Linked DNA regions of Homo sapiens: region 1 is linked to region 2. Evidence: promoter capture Hi-C in human tissues and cell types (Jung and others, 2019). All regions are on one chromosome and are shown on one strand. The core of a region is centred on a gene start or on the middle of the fragment in contact, and the rest is flanking DNA. Distances in the headings are between cores, read along the strand shown.

Evidence for each region. Contacts are between HindIII fragments. The study calls those that stand out against the background at their distance.
Region 1: a contact is called between a fragment that was not itself captured here and the fragment with the promoter of EPHA7 in region 2, in 1 of the 25 tissues and cell types used here (thymus).

What each region holds. Positions count from the first base shown.
Region 1 is chr6:93,282,412-93,287,329 of GRCh38, forward strand. All of the region lies in intron 5 of EPHA7 (EPH receptor A7), which reads right to left. Among named protein-coding and RNA genes, the nearest start is that of EPHA7, 130 kb to the right of the region's middle. The HindIII fragment of the contact is 5,210 bases long and covers 320-4,918 here.
Region 2 is chr6:93,417,901-93,422,344 of GRCh38, forward strand. EPHA7 (EPH receptor A7) reads right to left here and starts at 1,659. Exons shown (of 17, transcript NM_004440.4): 1 at 1,345-1,659. The coding sequence starts at 1,441. RefSeq lists a silencer at 1,707-1,906. The HindIII fragment of the contact is 11,378 bases long and covers 1-3,615 here.

The DNA.
Region 1 (4,918 bases), core at 1,675-4,174, 130 kb before region 2:
CCGAAGTTTTAAAAAATAAATTAGAATAAAAATTGAGTTCACTGCAGATAGTAATGAGAGGTGACAGCATGCTGGCAGCCCTCGCAGCCCTCACTCACTCTTGGCGCCTCCTCGGCCTTGGCGCCTACTCTGGCCACACTTGAGGAGCCCTTCGACCTGCGGCTGCACTGTGGGAGCCCCTTTTTGGGCTGGCCAAGGCTGGAGCCGGCTCCTTCAGCTTGCGGGGAGGTGTGGAGGGAGAGGGGCAGGCAGGAGCTGGGGCTGCGCACAGCGCTTGCGGGCCAGCGCGAGTTCCCGGTGGGCGTGGGCTCGGCGGGCCCCTCACTCAGAGCCGCGGGACCTGCCAGCCCCGAGCAGTGAGGGGCTTAGCACCTGGGCCAGCAGCTGCTGTGGTCGATTTCTCCCCCGGCCTTAGCTGCCTCCCTGCAGGGCAGGGCTCAGGACCTGCACCCTGCCATGCCTGAGCCTCCTCCGTCCCCCTCCCCATGGGTTCCTGCATGGCCAGAGCCTCCCCGAGGAGCGCTGCCCCCTTCTCCACCGTGCCTAGTCCCATCGACCACCCAAGGGCTGAGGAGTGCAGGAGCAGGGCGCGGGACTGGCAGGCAGCTCCACCTGCGGCCCCGGTGCGGGATCCATTGGGTGAAGCCAGCTGGGCTCCTGAGTCTAGTGGGGACTTGGAGAACCTTTATGTCTAGCTAAGGGATTGTGAATGCACCAATCGGCACTCTGTATCTAGCTCAAGGTTTGTAAATACACCAATCAGCACTCTGTGTCTAGCTCAGGGTTTGTAAATACACCAATTGACACTCTGTATCTAGCTAATCTAGTGGGGACATGGAGAACTTTTGTGTCTAGCTCAGGGATTGTAAACACACCAATCAGCACCCTGTCAAAACAGACCAATCAGCTCTCTGTAAAACAGACCAATCAGCAGGATGTGGGTGGGGCCAGATAAGAGAATAAAAGCAGGCTGCCCGAGCCAGCAGTGGCAATCCTCTCAGGTCCCCTTCCACACTGTGGAAGCTTTTTCACTCTTTGTGATAAATCTTGCTGCTGCTCACTCTTTTGGGTCCACATTGCCTTTATGAGCTGTAACAATCAATGCGAAGGTCTGCAGCTTCACTCCTGAAGCCAGCAAGACCACGAACCCACCAGAAGGAACGAACAACTCCAGACGCACTGCCTTAAGAGCTGTAACACTCACCGCGAAGGTCTGCAGCTTCACTCCCGAAGCCAGCGAGACCAGGAGCCCACCAGAAGGAAGAAACTCCAAACACATCCGAATATCAGAAGAAACAAACTCTGGACACGCCACCTTTAAAAACTGTAACACTCACCACGAGGGTCCGCGGCTTCATTCTTGAAGTCAGTGAGACCAAGAACCCCCCAATTCCGGACACAGTAATATAGTTTCACAGAACCTTTGCTTCACATGTTTATGTGCATATGGATCAAGGAAAATAAAGATATATAATATGCATCTACTAATTACTATAAATACAATTTAAAGTTTTGGAAATCACTATATTACATAAAATATAATTGAAGGTATGCCTATTCTTAAAGTGATATTCATTTAAGCTGATAAAATACAAAACATAATTCATACAGCAAAAATGCTTGATAGTTCCATATTATACCATTAATTTACTCCATCCCAAAGTTCTCAATAATGGTTGAAGAGAATGATCAATTTCATTATATTTTGGCTGCTATCAGTACCATAGTTGTTTCTATTTTATTCTATCTTTTTATTTTATTTCTCTCCTTTTTTCCTGCTATATTTTTTGACTGTATGTTTTCCAGGCCTAAAACCCATATATATCAAACATAAATTGACTTTCTTAAACATGATTTAACAATGTTAGTTTTTGCAGAATTCTTCCTCGTTAGTGGCTTTGCTCATTTATTTTTTTTTTTCAAAATCATCATTCTGGTGTTCCTCAGAGTGATGATCTGTAAAGTGGATTATCCTACAAGGGGAAGAAGAAAAGAAACAGGAAAGAAAGGAGAAAGAAAAGAATAAGAAAGATCAGCAGCAGCAGGGGGAGAAGGAAGTGAAAAGGAAGGAAAATGAATGTGGCTTGAGACTCATTAATACTACCTCATTTATAAAGATATATGCACACATATGTTTATTGTGGCACTGTCCACAGTAGCAAAGTCATGGAACCAACCCAAATGCCAATCAACATCAATGACAGACTGGATAAAGAAAATGTGCTAAATATACACAATGGAATACTATGAAGCCATAAAAAAGGATAGGTTCATGTCCTTTGCAGGGACATGGATGACACTGGAAACCATCATTCTCAGAAAACTAACACAAGAACAGAAACCCAAACACCTCATGTTCTCACTCGTAAGTGGGAGTTGAACAATGAGAACACATGGACACAGGGAGGGGAACATCACACACCAGGGCCTGTTGGGGGGTGGGGGGCTAGGGGAGGGATAGCATTAGGAGAAATACGTAATGTAGATGATGGGTTGATGGGTGCAGCAAACCACCATGGCGTGTGTATACCTATGTAACAAACCTGCACATTCTGCACATGTATCCCAGAACTTAAAGTATAATTAAAAAAAAGTACAGTTAAAAAACTTATCATTTCAATTGCTCCAGGTACTCTGAATACATTGTATCTCAAAAGTGCATAAACTTAAGAAATTCATATTGCTTAATAAGTTCTCAATATTAGTCAAGATTTACCACTTTATTGCAAGAATCTGTTACAAACTGAGCACTTAAGTTTAATATTTTCTGCTAAATACATTTTGATTAGCTTTGCAACTTCTATTTTAAAGTTGTTGTTTTACAAAGCAGCATTAATTTACTATATAATATTTTAGTACCAAGAGAAAATTAACGCAGCTAATTAATACCCAAGAATCACTGCACTGGGAAGATCTGGCTTATAATGAATAGTTATACAGAGTGAGAGTTACCATTTTATGAATAAGTTTGGCTCCAAAAGTTAATTTGTAATTTCATTGTTTGTAATTTGGAGTTAACACAGAAGTAATATCAGAAATAGCAGATTGCTAGGCCAGCCAACAAACATGTATTTGACCCAGAATGTTCTTAAACTATTGTAAATTTGCACAGATAAGAAATCGAAAACAATTCTGTTTTAATATTATTAACTATGCAAAAGAGAAAAACCAAGACAAAGAATAAAATGTGTTTGCTATTTCTACTGATGCAGTTGCTTCAATTACAGGAATGAAGATCTCCCTGAATTCTCCCCATATTCTGATATCTCTTAGCCAAGGACAGAAACTTTTGCTTGTTGTCTGCCTGTCTCCTTCTCTTGCCACATATGAAGTTCCGGCTTTATTCCTAAATAATCTCCAGCCAGCAAGAAATAACGAACTCAAAAACTAACTAGGATATAAATATAAAGTAGATGATGTACTGACTTTCATCTTTTTTCAGTTAGAGCTGGGGTCTGTGGCCCATGGGCCATATCTGGCTAGCCACTTGTTTTTGTAAATAAGGTTTCATTGGAACACAGCGGCACCCTTTTTTACATATTCCCTCTGGCTGCTTCTGTGCCAAAATGTGAGTGCTGGGGAATTCTAACACAGAAAACATGGCCTGCAGGATGTGAAATATTTATTACCTGGCCCTTTTCAGAAAAAGTTTGCCTTTCTCTGAGTTACAGTCTGTTTGGCTTCAAGTAAGAAAACTCAAAAAACTAGTAATTTGATTGTTGTTGTTTTTCCTTACACACACACACACACACACCCTACACACACACCCCCACACAAATGTATTCTACAGATGGGCATCTATGTTTTATTCAGTTGTTCAAGGCTATACAGATGATTCTCATGGCCTTTCCCTCTTGGCTGTTGCTGCTACCACACCTATGACATCTATATTGCGGCATGGAGAAGGAATAAGCAATGCGAATGCTCAGCACCTGAATTAGGAAAGCCAAAGTTTCCAGTAAGCTATGGAAATCTTCTGTTTGCATCTTATTCCCTAGGCTGGGAAATGGATTTTTAAAATGTAATCTGGCTGTACTGCTGCACTAAAAAATATGGTAAATAAGAAGAAAGAAGATATTAGGGAGAAAACTAGCAGTGTCTGTCACCTTCATCATCCCAATAGCAGAGGAGAGGGAGATCACACACTTAACTTGATTCTCCCTGCTCCCCAGTTAATTTCTTCTCTGAATATAGAACAGAAGAAACCAAAGGAATTGATTCAGATTTCCTAAGTGAAGGCACCAGATCATGGATAAAAATAATGTTTTTAAACTGGGGCTTGGAAGACTATATATGATAGCATTAAACCTTCATTTGTCAGGTTTAAAAGGTAGCAGGTGAGAAAAATATTTTTTGCTTGTATCTGGGAGTTTTCAGGTGAAGCTTTTCCCTCCAGGACCAGACAGCTGTGGAGACCCTGAACAGGGCAAAGGTTGCGTCTGAAACAGTCACATCCGGTGATTTAAACATATTTCCAGTGACAGAAGTCATTTACTAGATGGCATATATAATATGTTAACTAGCATGAATATAGTACTTTTTAAAAGACTTTCAATAACATTTAATTTCTCTGTTTTATAATTGAGAAATATTTATTTGAAAAAGTCTCAAATTGATTCACAGTACTAACAAGGAATACTCCACCATGCATATTTTTGGCACTTAGTATATGCTAAATAAACGAATAATGGTGTGACACTACAAATTACCTTCACTCTTTTATATAAGCCAGTGTCTTCCTATCTATTGGATTCTTCCTGAAAGATTTTGTGTAAACTCTCCCATGAAAATAAAATTGTTTCTCAAGCCTATAACTCTTTCCACCTGCTGGGGAATCTCTTTTCTTCACTGTATAGCCAAATATGAAAAAAATTGTCCATATTCTTTTTCTCCATTTCTCAACTCCTTTCATGTTTCA
Region 2 (4,444 bases), core at 409-2,908:
TGGCGCCGGGTTTGAGGGGGGCTTGAGCGAACTAAGAGGAGTGCACGATGAGAATAAAGAAAAGGTGCACTAAGTTTTCAGAAATAGATGAATCAAGGACCTATATGTAAGTCCCCTCAACACCCCGCCCGATAACCACCATGACCTAAATTTCATAACAGATTCCTCTCCCTCTACACATCAGGAATAAGTAATTATTTCTCTTCTGCTTTTAACAGATCGAAAAATGAAACTTAGATACACAGCCTGAAAGACCAGGGGGGCGACGGGATGAGGGGGGTTGGGGATGGGATTGTGACACTGCTCAAAAGCAAGAGACTTCCATTGACAGGGTTTATTTTTCCCCAGCTCCAACTACAGGCACCGAAAGGTATTTTACCTTCTGTCAAAGGTTCAAAGAAGGAAAACATAACCATATACAGGCGTATCTGTAACAGCTTGCCAAATAAAACCTGCCTTCTCCTACCAGAACCAACCCTCAGGGTTCAGGTCTTTGGCAAGGATTGGGCACTCGGATTCCTCAATTGCTGCACTATGGGGCAAATAATTGGGGACTTTGAGTCGCCCAGGCGGCATCCTTACAAATTGCACAGCTCCAGCCCGCCCCCTGCCTCCACGGCCCGACCAAGCCCGCTGGGCTGCCGCTGCCCCCATGACCGCTGGGCCCGACGCGCAGCGCGCGCTGAATGGAGACATCCCCGGCCCTCGGGTCGCGCGCCGCACGCCGCGCTTCACCTCCGCGGCGTTATTGTTCCGTGCTGGCGGCCGAGCGCCAACCGCAGGACCGCGCCGCCGCCTCCGACGCAGTGAGCACTTCATTAGTAACCCGAGCTTTCCGAGCTCATCGAAGTCTCGGTCCCTCTGGGAAGGCTCCGGGCTCCCGCCACTCGCCGGCGGGCTGGCGGAGACGGTAGGGGCTGCATTTCCCAGTCTCCAACCCAACTCTGGCCGCAGCTCCCACAGAAGGCGAATAAGGAGACAAGGAAGACCGAGCTAGAGAGAGATGTGACCCGCCTGAGGTACTAAGAAATAAGCTCGCCGGCAGTTCCTCCAACCCCACCCCACCCCCGTTGCTGCTCACGCCCTCCAGACTGCCCGCGCCAGAAATCCCGCACCCGTCGGATGGACGGCTCCGGGCACAGGGCTGTAGGCGGCTCGGAACAGCCCTGGTTCGCGCTCGCTGGTCCGCCAGGAGCGGCCTCAGCGGTGAGGGGGCGGGGAGCCGGCGGGGGAGGGTCGCCCGGCGCCGGAGGCGCGGCCGGCAGCGCCGCGGACGAGCTGGCTTGTGCAGGTAGACATCTAAATAAATAAGTCAGAACAAACTTTGCTTTCCCATCACCTTACCTTCCTTCGCAGCCTGCGCCTCCCCTGTGTGTGCAAAGCGGAGCAGCCAGATGTAGCATAAAATAATCCATGAAGGGTACCGAGTTTGAAAAACCATGGTGCATGAGCAGGTTTTATTTTAGGTTTCAGTTATCTTGAGTCGTGGATTTTTAAATGCTGTTTGTTCCGAAGTAGCTTTTGTTTTATTGTGCTCCTTGCATCGATTCCCCTTCTCGGTCCCCGATCGGCTGCTCCACGTTTAGCTTTTTTTAATTTCCCCCCCACTCCTGTTCGCTCGCACCGTGTTTGCTGCCTGCAAGTCTCCGACTGCAGACCGGCCGCTTGCTCCACACTCCAATAATATCAATTAGGGGGGGAGGGGGCGGGGCTCCGAGCTGAGAGCCTCCGCCACTCGGGCTGAGTGGCAGGCACAGCCGGCCTGCCAGGAGGCGATTCCCAGGGCCAAGGGGCGGGTCCCGGCGAAATGGCCGCCCCGGCCACGGGGGCGGGGTCCGAGGCAGGAGCCAATCGGTGCCGAGCGGAGTCAGGTTGCTGGTCCAGGATTCCCTCCAGGTTCTGAGCTCGCGCTGGATGTTCAGAGGAGAACGAGGATGGTAGCCGAGGTGTGTGCTGCTTTGGACGCTCTGCTTTTAGCAACCGCAGCTTTCGCGTAGCAGAATAAATCCGAGAATAACGCTCCCAACTTACACTCTTTTCTATAGCTGTACTCCGCGCGATCTTTTAGAAACCAGAGGCGAAGCAAGCCTTCTCTCAGCTACCAAGCACGGAGCCCGGACAGTGAAATGAGCTGTGCCTTTAAGTAAAGTGTGTTTTACTTTTTTGTTGTTAGAACCTCCGCGGGCTGGGTAACTTTGTTTTTTGCCTTTTTGAAAAGTTTCTACTTCTCTTTTTCTGTTACTCCAAGAGCCGTCAGTTTTAGGTACCACCCACCACAATCCCTGAAAGAATAAAGTAACCAAGTGTATTATGTTTAAACAATGTTTCCAAGAGTTTGCAACAAGCTCTGGCAAAAGAAACAGAGGAAAAGGGAGTGGGAAAGGAAGTCTTTTGTTTTAAGCGCCCCTTCTCCTCCGCCCTGTCTTTTCACCATAGTTTGTTGAGCGAAGTGAGACATTAGGAGAGAACCTTCTGATGGTTGCGTATCGTTTTTTTACGCGTTTATCATTTTCTAAGGTTTTCCTTGGATTGCCTCCACTTTGATAGTTTTCCATTTCGCTGCATAAATTACACTGAATTTTAAAGAATGCCACTACGTATTAAATTCATAAAGCAAGACCTTTCTCTTCGCAAGTATTTACCATTTTCAGGAATTATTCAATGCTTATCTTTCAAAGAGAAACTAAGAATAAAAAAAGTCATAACCAATATCTCCAGTTGAATTCATTCAACCCGAACGGCAAGGAAGGCTGCGTAGAGAAATCTGTTTTCCATTAGGCAGTTTCGGACACTTTGTATTCAAGAGGTAGGTAATAAGAGGAAGAACTTTAAAATTTTAATTGCCAAATCTTCAATTTCAAAGGTCACACAGAGTAACTTGATCACATGTTTAAGATGAATTTCTTTTTTTGTCCTATAATTTCTTCCTTTAAAAATATTTCTCAGTCATTTATGATTTCCTTTTATTTCCGATAGATCCAAAGTTTGATCTCACATAAGGCTCCAAACTTTTTCCAACCTTTCTATCTGGAAATATAAAGTAAATTGAGTTGTTTCTGCTTTTTATAGTAGGGAGTTCTCTAAGATGACAACCCCCAGATATTTATTTGTATTTTATGTTAAATTGTCTCCTGTAGTTTTTATTTGCCTAATAAAATAACATGGAAGAGAGATATGAAATTTATTCTTTAAACCTCTTTGATTCTGTAGTTTCTGAAACATTTCTTCAATGTTACATATTCCTAGCCATTATGCCTATTTAATATTTTAGAAAGTGTATCAAAAAGCATCTTCAGTGTCCCTTAAAGGATGCATAGAAAATGTAAATGCGTAATAGATTAACCTTAGAAAGAGACAAAAAAAAATATGGGGAGAACACACTTGTTATAGAGGAGATGAAGCTTTATTTACACAAATAGATGATTTAAGGATGAAACTTGTAAACTAAAACATAAGAGTTAAAAACATAAATCCCTGCACTTAGTCTTTAGAACTCACAGAACTACAAACTTACAAATATTAAACCACTTCTAATAGTTAAAACGAATTCTCCAGGATTTCAACACTTTCCCCAGGGTCTCATCCCCACTTCTTAAAATGACACCAAGGTGGCCTTTAAAGTTTAAAATATTCCTTTCATCTATTGAATGACTAATACTCAATGATGTGAATACAAATACTTTTCCATTAAAACCAGGAAACCAAAGAAGTAACATCCTTCACTCCTCTGATGAGTGTAGGTGGTATAGTGAGTCCTCTTTTTGTGTCCCTTCTCTCTGTCAGACACAGGGGCATGTGTAACTTTACTCTTATTTTTAGAGACAAGAAGCTTCACATTAAATGCACATGTGCCAGGCTGCTGACAGTTCTCCCTGCATAGCTGCACAGTGATACTGATTTTTAGGTTTTTCAAACTTCTCTTCTTTCTTTTGTAGTATCTAGATATATTGACAAAGAATTCGGAGCATTTAAATAAAAATAAATGACAGTCAAGAAGACAGTGTTCAGCATACAGTATATGATTAATATATAAATTTACACTCGACTGTATTTGACTAATGATAAAGCATATAGACCTATTTGTACATGAAGCCACTGACATAAAAATTATCAGTATACAAAACTTTCTCATTTTAAAATAACATAATGGTGAACTTCCTCACACCATTACAATTTATTTTAGCTTCATTTTATGATTTAAGCATATTATTTCTAATCAATTATTTTTAATAATGCGATGTGTTTGTATATAAAGTGAATTCAAAAGGAACTTGTCTTCCTGAGCAATACCAAATAGTGTATGAGACCAACACCTGTGCGCCAAAGCAATAATTCTGAAAACTAGTTTTACATTTTTATGCATTCATTGTACAACTAAGTTGATAGCGTCGTCCACATATATTTAGTGAATTTTAAGTAAATGGAAACAGAGACTAAGACCTTA